Regions from separate parts of the Homo sapiens genome. Here all the other regions are linked to region 2. Evidence: promoter capture Hi-C in human tissues and cell types (Jung and others, 2019). All regions are on one chromosome and are shown on one strand. The core of a region is centred on a gene start or on the middle of the fragment in contact, and the rest is flanking DNA. Distances in the headings are between cores, read along the strand shown.

Region 1 (2,700 bases), core at 170-2,669, 660 kb before region 2:
AACAGGAAAGAAGAGGTAGCCACTCCCATGTTAAGTCTGAAACTCAAATAGGGCACACATATTAAATCTTAAGGCTTGACAATAATCTTCTTTGACTCTATGTCCCACCTTCTAGACATCCTGGAGTAGGAGTTAGGTCCCCAGTGTCCTGGGGATCCCTGCCCCATTAGTTTTGTTGGGATCACCCACATGGAACTTCTCACAGGCTGTGGTTTCCCGAGCTGGGATCACATACTGGTGACTCTACAGTTCTGGGGTCTCAGGCGTGGTCCTGCTTCCAGGGCTCCCCTTGACCTTGCCCTAATAAGCACTCTCTAAGGTGTCCCTGCCTCCATGGCTAGGCTGAGAATTGCCTTAGTGGTGACCTCCTGTGGTAGCACTGAAAGGAACAGGATGAAAGGTTAGGGGCCACTGAGCAAAAAGATAACTGACGTAAACCGGTGTCTGCAATAACACAGAAAGACATGAGGGTGAAGATCTAGTACCACAGATATCTGCAGTACCAGAGTCTATCCACAATAGTACAGAAAATAGGGGAGCTTCTGAGTAGAAAGCAGCAAACCTCTTCAATAGGGAGATGACAAGCAAAGGCCCAGAGAAAAAGCATGGGAAGTCTCCAGAATCTAGGGTAGTTGATTGGAATGTCCTCCCTGAACAAAGCAGCCACCAAATCTGGGCAGGCAGCTGATTTTTTCAAATGCTGAAGTCACAAAAGAAGACAATAAAACATACAAAGAAACAGGGAAATACGGTCTACAAAAAGAAACCAACTGAATCTGTACAAACCTACATGAAAGAAATGGCAATTTACATCTTGGCTTTGAAGAATTAAAAAGAAATGTGGGCCGGGCATGATTGCTCACAACTGTAATCCCAGGACTTTCAGAACGCCAGGCAGGAAGATCACTTCAGAGCAGGAATTCGAGACCAGCCTGGCCAACATTATGAAACCCCATCTCTACTAAAAATACAAAAATTAGCCAGGCATGGTGGCACATGCCTGTAATCTGAGGCTGAGGCATGAGAATTGCTTGAACAGGAGGCAGAGGTTGCAGTGAGCTGAGATCCCACCCCTGCACTCCAGCCTCGGCAATAGAGTGTGACTCTGTCTCCAAAAATAAAGAAAATGCGAAGGTAGGCAGATCACCTGAGGTCAGGAGTTTAAGACCAGCCTGGCCAACACGGTGAAACCCCGTCTCTACTAAAAATACAAAAATTAGCCAGGTGTGGTGGCACGTGCCTGTAGTCCCAGCTACTCAGGGAGACTGAGGCAGGACAATTGCCCGAACCCAGGAGGCAGAGGTTGCAGTGAGTCGAGATCATGCCACTGCACTCCAGCCTGGGCGACAGAGCGAGACTCCATCTCAAAAAATAAATAATAAATAATTAAATAAAATAAAGAAAATGAAGAGAGTCTAATGGGCCCATGAAAAACCATCAAGCACCAAGAACATATGCATTCTGGGAGTCCAACAAATAATGTGAATATATCTAACATTACTGAACTTTACATAAGCAAACAAGCTTTAATGAAAGACATAATAAAGATATTATCAAAGACTGACAAACTCGATTCTTTTTGGAAGACATGGTGACATAAAGGCCTGCAACTGAAAAAATTCAGAGCCATGAAAACACAAACAAAATATGTGGGAATTTTTTTTTTTTTTAGAAGACAGAGTCTCACTGTCACCCAGGCAGGAGTGCAGTGGCACGATCTCAGCTCACTGCAACCTCCACCTCCCAAGTTCAAGGGATTCTCCTGCCTCGGCCTCCCAGGTAGCTAAGATTAAAGACGTGCACCATCATGTCCGGCTAATATTTGTATTTTCAGTAGAGACAGGGTTTCACCATGTTGGCCAGGCTGGTCTTGAACTCCTGACCTCAGGTGATCCACCCACCTTGGCCTCCCAAAGTGCCTGGATTACAGGTGTGAGCCACCACACCCGGCCAATATGTGGAATTTAAATAATATGTGGCTGTGTTGTGTAAAAGGAGAACCATAATAATTTTGGAAAGAAAATGGAGGGGTTTGCCAATCTACTTGTGAACCTATTATGTTATTTATAATCTAAAACTTTATAATCAAATATAATCTACAACAAGATATACAGAAAAATTCAAATTAAAGATTCAAGCAAATAAAATGTAAGCAACAAAATATTAGATCTTAAAAAAACACAGTATTTTATAATCACACAGCGAGCCAGGCCTTCCAAAGAAAGATCAGTTATTTATTTTTGCTTTTGTGGTATAGCGTCCTAACAGAAGCAACCACTCTTTAAACTGTCCAACCTGAAGGAACCCTCAAACACCTGTGGTGAAGAGAGCATTGTGGCAGCCATGGTGAAAAATTATAAAAGATCCATATGTCTTCATTTAGAGATTGTTCCAAAGAGGATGCAAAACAAGCTATTACTGCTTATTAACAAAAAAAGATGTATCTTTGAAAAACTGGCACAATGAAATTTCACAACAGAACATGTACTGAAGAATTGTTTTCTAAAATCTCATAATGACACGTAAATGCATCTTGACACCTCTCACTGACTCTTGCCACAGAACTTACAACTGTAGCTCCCCACGGAAACATGAGGGATGATGGAGAAAGTGACAGGGAAAAGAAACCCGGGTTCCTCCAGGTTGGGTAACTGAAAGAGTGATTGCCTCTTTAGGATGGTGCATTTCCTATTTTCCTGG
Region 2 (2,700 bases), core at 14-2,513:
CATGACCCACAGCGCCCGGTCCTTATTTAACCTCTTGTTGTTCTTTCTCCCCAATCTTTCAATCTTCCTCAATGTCTATATATTACAGCCTCTTCTCTTATCTCTCCGTCTCCTCTGCTCTCCCTATTAAATTCTCTCTTCCCTGTTATACCCCTCTGTCCCCACTCTCCAGCACCTCAGATCCCCAGGTGTCCTCCCTGCTGTGGTTCTCCATCTGTTCTTGCCACCAGCACCACTCTGCTCTGTCTGCCCTGGCTCCAAATCCCTCCTCCTCTCCCTCACTCTGGTGAGCCTCCCTCTTTGCTGCCCCTCTCCCTACCTTGCTGTCCTTCATCTTTCTGTACATCTAGCTTTTCTCTACATTTCTCCAGTTGCTTTTCTCCTCCTGCTTTCTTAGTTTTTTTTCTTTCACTTTTGCTGTCTCTTGGCAAATTCCTAACCCATCCTCTACTTTGCCATCTGTTATGGGCCTTTCTCATTCTTCTTTTCTCTGTCTCTGGTTTTCTACTGCTCTCTCAGTCCCTCTCTCTATCTCCTGATCCCTTTGGCCCAGGCGGGTTTGGAGTAATCACAGGCGGGTTTGGAGTAAGACGCCTGCATCCCGTAGAAGCGCATTTTCCAGGGGGTGGAGCTGGACAGGAAAGAACACCTGGTATCATAGGACAAGCCCCTGCGACCCACCCCAACCCTGGCTCAGGGGAAGCGAAGACTTGGGGAGCAGCAGGGCCCGGCACCAGGAGGGACGTGGTGGGCGACGGCACCCTAAGACAAAGGTGGGACCTGCAGGATCCCAGGACCAGGCAGAGGACGCAGCCTCCCCGGGGCTGGGGCCGGGGCGCCGCGCTCCAGGTGCCAACTGGGGCGAGGCTGGGAGGCGCCCAGGGCTGGAATCCACCTCGCGGGTGAGGACTTTAAAAAGCACGGGGCGGGAATAGTCAGAAAAATGTTTTGAGCAGGAAAAATACGCGATAGGAAGTGTATACATTGCCCTATAGCAGAAAGACCGGGGACGGGACCAGCCTCCGAGCGACTTCAAACCCAAAAGCAAGCAACTTCCAGACTCTTACCGGGACGTCTCAATTTGCTCTGGGTGAAGGGAAGACAGGCGAGAATTTCCAGGTCCGTGGGGATCCCACGTCCCAGGGGCAGAAGCGCCGGGGACCTGGGAAGTGCAGACTTAATCCAAGGCAGAGCAAAACTCACGCGCCGTGGTAGGACCTTCACTCCACGCGATCCGCTTCCGGGTTTGTGCGCGCCCAGGACTGAAGCCAGGCCGGGGCAGGTTGGCTGGACCTGGGCGGGGTAGAGGCGGGGCCCCAGGCGGAGAGACCTTGCCCTTTAGAACCGGCAGAGGGAGGGCCCGGGGCGGGACCTGTGCTTCTCAGCCTCGCACTCAGCGCCTCTGTTTTTCGAGTTTTTGGAGGCGACAGCGGCCAGGAAGGCTGAGGCATGATTCAAAAGCCCTGGAATTATCTGGAACGGGAATGCAAACTAGAATGTGAAATGCAAAGCCCTGCCAGGGCGGAACATACGATTTCATGCTGATGGCCCACAGAACAGAACAGAAATCCTCTCCCTTTCTATTCTCCATTCACTCAGGAGGGAGGGTCCACCCCGTGCTCAGCTTCAAAGTGTTCCCTAGGGCCTCCGCCTGGGATGCGGGACGGAGAGCTCAGGCCAGGGAGGAGTGAGGTCACCACCTGCTGCCTAAACACAGCAGGGATGCGGGCACGAGGCGGAAGCCTGAGGTCCCAGCTACTCAGGAAGCAGCGGCGGGAGAATCCCTGAACCTGGGGGTCCAGGCCATCCTGGGCGACAAAGTAACACCCCCTAACTGCAGGGTCCTCTTCCTGATCTCTCTCTCGCTCTTTTACTTTTTTTTTTTTTTTTTTTTTTTGAGACGGAGTCTCGCTGTGTCGCCCAGGCTGGAGTGCAGTGGCACGATTTTGGCTCACTGCAAGCTCCGCCTCCCGGGTTCACGCCCTTCTCCTGCCTCAGCCTTTCGAGTAACTGGAACTACAGGAGCCCGCCTAACCCAAACAAAAACAAGACCGGGCGCGCTGGCTCACACCTGTAATCTCAGCACTTTGGGAGGCTGAGGCGGGCAGATCATGAGGTCAGGAGATCGAGACCATCCTGGCTAACACAGTGAAACCCCATCTCTACTAAAAAATACAAAAAAATTAGCCAAGCGTGGTGGTGGGTGCCTGTAATCCCAGCTACTAGGGAGGCTGAGACAGGAGAATGGAGTGAACCCGGGAGGCGGAGCGTGCAGTGAGCCAAGATCGTGCCACTGCACTCCAGCCTGGGCGACAGAGCGAGGCTACGTCTCAAAAAAAAAAAAGAAAAAGAAAAAGAAAAAGAAATATCTCCCCTAGTTTGTCTCCTTTTCCAGAATTTACCAGATACCAGTACACAGATACCAGTGCATACATTAATGTATGACTTTCATACATAGATTCTCTGATCTGATCCACAAAGAGCTAAATGTGCATCCAGATGTGGCCCCTGAACAATCCCTGCTGCCCAATATCACTGACACCTTGGGGTCCACACCCCATCTCCATCCATCTCTGGTGTGAGCCCTTCCCAGGACCATGCCCAGTGCAGCCTCTTCCCAAGCTCATGTCACTAGGTTATAGAAGATGGAATTTAAGTGAAGATGACAAGGACTGAGAAAAGGCATGGGTTAGTGTGAGC
Region 3 (2,700 bases), core at 162-2,661, 570 kb after region 2:
GACTTCATACTGGAGAGAAACCTTACAAGTGTAATAAATGTGGTAAGGTTTTTAATCAACAAGCACACCTTGCATGTCATCATAGAATTCATACTGGAGAGAAACCTTACAAGTGTAATGAGTGTGGCAAAACCTTCCGTCACAATTCAGTCCTTGTAATTCATAAGACAATTCATACTGGAGAGAAACCTTACAAGTGTAATGAATGTGGCAAGGTTTTTAATCGAAAAGCAAAACTTGCACGTCATCATAGAATTCATACTGGAAAGAAACATTAGAAATATGAAGAATGTGACAAAGTTTACAGTTGTAAATCAAGTCTTGAAAGACAGGAGAATTCATACTGGAGAGAAAGCTTACAAATGTAAGAGTTTGTGACAAGAATCTTGGGCGTGATTCACACCTGGCCCAACAAACTAGAAGTCACACTGGAGAGAAACCTTACAAGTGTACTGAGTGTGGCAAAGCCTTTAGTGGGCAGTCAACACTTATTCACCATCAGGCAATCCATGGTATAGGGAAACTTTACTAATGTAATGATTATCACAAAGTCTTCAGTAACACTACAACCGTTTCAAATCATTGGAGAATCCATAATGAGAGATTTTGAAAGTGTAATAAATGTGGCAAATTTTTCAGACATTGTTCATACCTTGCAGTTCATCGGTGAACTCATGCTGGAGAGAAACCTTACAAATGTCATGATTGTGGCAAGGTCTTCAGTCTAGCTTCATCTTATGCAAAACAGGAGACTTCATACAGGAGACAAACTTCACAAGTATGATGATTGCAGCAAAGCCTTTACTTCACGTTCACACCTAATTAGACATCAGAGAATCCATACTGGACAGAAATCTTACAAATGTCATCAGTGTGGCAAGGTCTTCAGTCTGAGATCACCCCTTAAGGAACATCAGAAAATTCATTTTTGAGATGATTGTTCCAAATGCAATGAGTATAGCAAACCATCAAGCATTAATTGGCATTAGAGTCAATTCAGCATTGACTTGAGTTTGAATTGACTTAACATTGAGTTCAAGCATTAATTGACATTAAAGTGTTTATGTTAAGAAGATTGGGCCAGGCGGGGTGGCTCACGCCTGTAATCCCAGCACTTTGGGAGGCCAAGACCAATAGATCACTTGAGGTCAGGAGTTTGAGACCAGACTGGCCAACAGACATGAGTCACTTTTCCCACCCTGTATTTTGTTTCTTTAATAAAAACTGTTACGGGTTTTTATGGGTATCTGTTGAATCTAAATCACATTTGTTTGTATAATCATTCAACAATATTAAGACTTCCAATCCATCAATATGGGTTGTATGTCTATTTAGTTTTTTTGATCAATGTAGATTTCAAGGTACAAGCTTCTCACCTCCTTAATTCAGTTTATTTGTAAGTATTAAGTTTCATAGCAAATTGAAGTGTGTTCATAAGTTTCTTTAAACATTATTTATTGTTAATGTAAGGAAATTCAACTAATTTTGGGTGCTGATTTTGTATTCTGCAAATACATTGAGTGGGTTTATTAGTATCAGTAAAATCTTGGTTGATTCTTTGTGATTTTCTTTCTTTTTTTTTTGAGACAGTCTCACTCTGTTACCCAGGCTCTTTTCTTTTTTTTTGAGAAGGAGTCTCACTCTTGTCACTTGGACTGGAGTACAATGGCACGATCTTGGCTCACTGCAGCCTCTGCCTTTCGGGTTTAAGTGATTCTCCTGCCTACTAACTGAGATTACAGGTGCCTGCCACCATGTCCGTATAATTTTTTTGTATTTTTAGTAGAGACGGGGTTTCACCATGTTGACCAGGTTTTTCTTGAACTCCTGACTTCAGGTGATCCGCCCCCATCAGCATCCCAAAGTTCTGGGATTACAGGTGTGAGCCACCGCACCCAGCCAGTGATTTTCTATATAGAATGTCGTATCATCTACAAGGAAATAATTTTTTTTTTTGAGACAATGTCTCTCTCTGTCGCCAGGCTAGAGTGCCGTGGAATGATCTTTGCTCACTGCAACCTCTGTCTCCCACGTCCAAGCAATTCTGTCTCAGCCTCCTGAGTAGCTGGGACTACAGGCGCATGTCACCACACCTAGCTAATTTATTTATTTTTTTTATTTTAGTAAAGACGGGGTTTCACCATGTTGGCCCAGATGGTGGGCCAACATGGTGAGTACCTTGAAGAGAACTTGAAAGAATATGTTAGATCGCCTAACCTCATTATCCGCCCACTTCGGACTTGCAAATTGCTGGGATTATGGGTGTGAGCCATGAGCCCGGCCCCAACAAATGTAATTTTACTTCTGTCTTTCTGATTTGGATGAGTTTTATTTCTTTTGCTATTTAATTGCTCTGCCTAGGACAGCCAGTATTTATTGAATATCAGGGGTGAGAGCATTCTTGCATCATGTGATATCCTACAGGAAAACCATTCCATTTTCCTTCATTGGTTATTTCAGCTGTGGTCATTTCATGGATGATTTTTATATTTTTGAGGTAAAACTCTACCTATATTGTTTAGGATTTTTACGAAGAATGAATATTGAGTTCTGTGAAATGCTTTTTCTCTATCTATTGAGATAATGTGTTTTTTATCTGTCATTCTGTGCAAGTGTGTATCCCATTGATTTGAGTATGTTGAACCATCCTTGCATCCCATGAATAGGTAGCACTTGGATGTTTACAATCCCTTTTTATAT

Evidence for each region. The method cuts DNA at HindIII sites, captures the fragments that hold promoters and counts their contacts. A contact is called where the count stands out against the background at its distance.
Region 1: a contact is called between a fragment that was not itself captured here and the fragment with the promoter of ZNF600 in region 2, in 1 of the 25 tissues and cell types used here (dorsolateral prefrontal cortex).
Region 3: a contact is called between a fragment that was not itself captured here and the fragment with the promoter of ZNF600 in region 2, in 2 of the 25 tissues and cell types used here (dorsolateral prefrontal cortex and hippocampus).

Annotation. Positions count from the first base shown.
Region 1 is chr19:52,125,403-52,128,102 of GRCh38, forward strand. The region is part of intron 2 of ZNF616 (zinc finger protein 616); the gene reads right to left. Among named protein-coding and RNA genes, the nearest start is that of ZNF616, 13 kb to the right of the region's middle. The HindIII fragment of the contact is 6,561 bases long and covers 1-2,700 here.
Region 2 is chr19:52,785,528-52,788,227 of GRCh38, forward strand. ZNF600 (zinc finger protein 600) reads right to left here and starts at 1,264. Exons shown (of 6, transcript NM_001321866.4): 1 at 1,068-1,264. RefSeq lists enhancers at 224-1,082, 1,083-1,940 and a silencer at 1,273-1,422. The HindIII fragment of the contact is 28,786 bases long and covers 1-2,700 here.
Region 3 is chr19:53,353,311-53,356,010 of GRCh38, forward strand. ZNF845 (zinc finger protein 845) reads left to right here. Exons shown (of 4, transcript NM_138374.3): 4 at 1-2,700. The coding sequence ends at 278. It also overlaps the pseudogene LOC107987264. Among named protein-coding and RNA genes, the nearest start is that of ZNF525, 11 kb to the right of the region's middle. The HindIII fragment of the contact is 6,579 bases long and covers 1-2,700 here.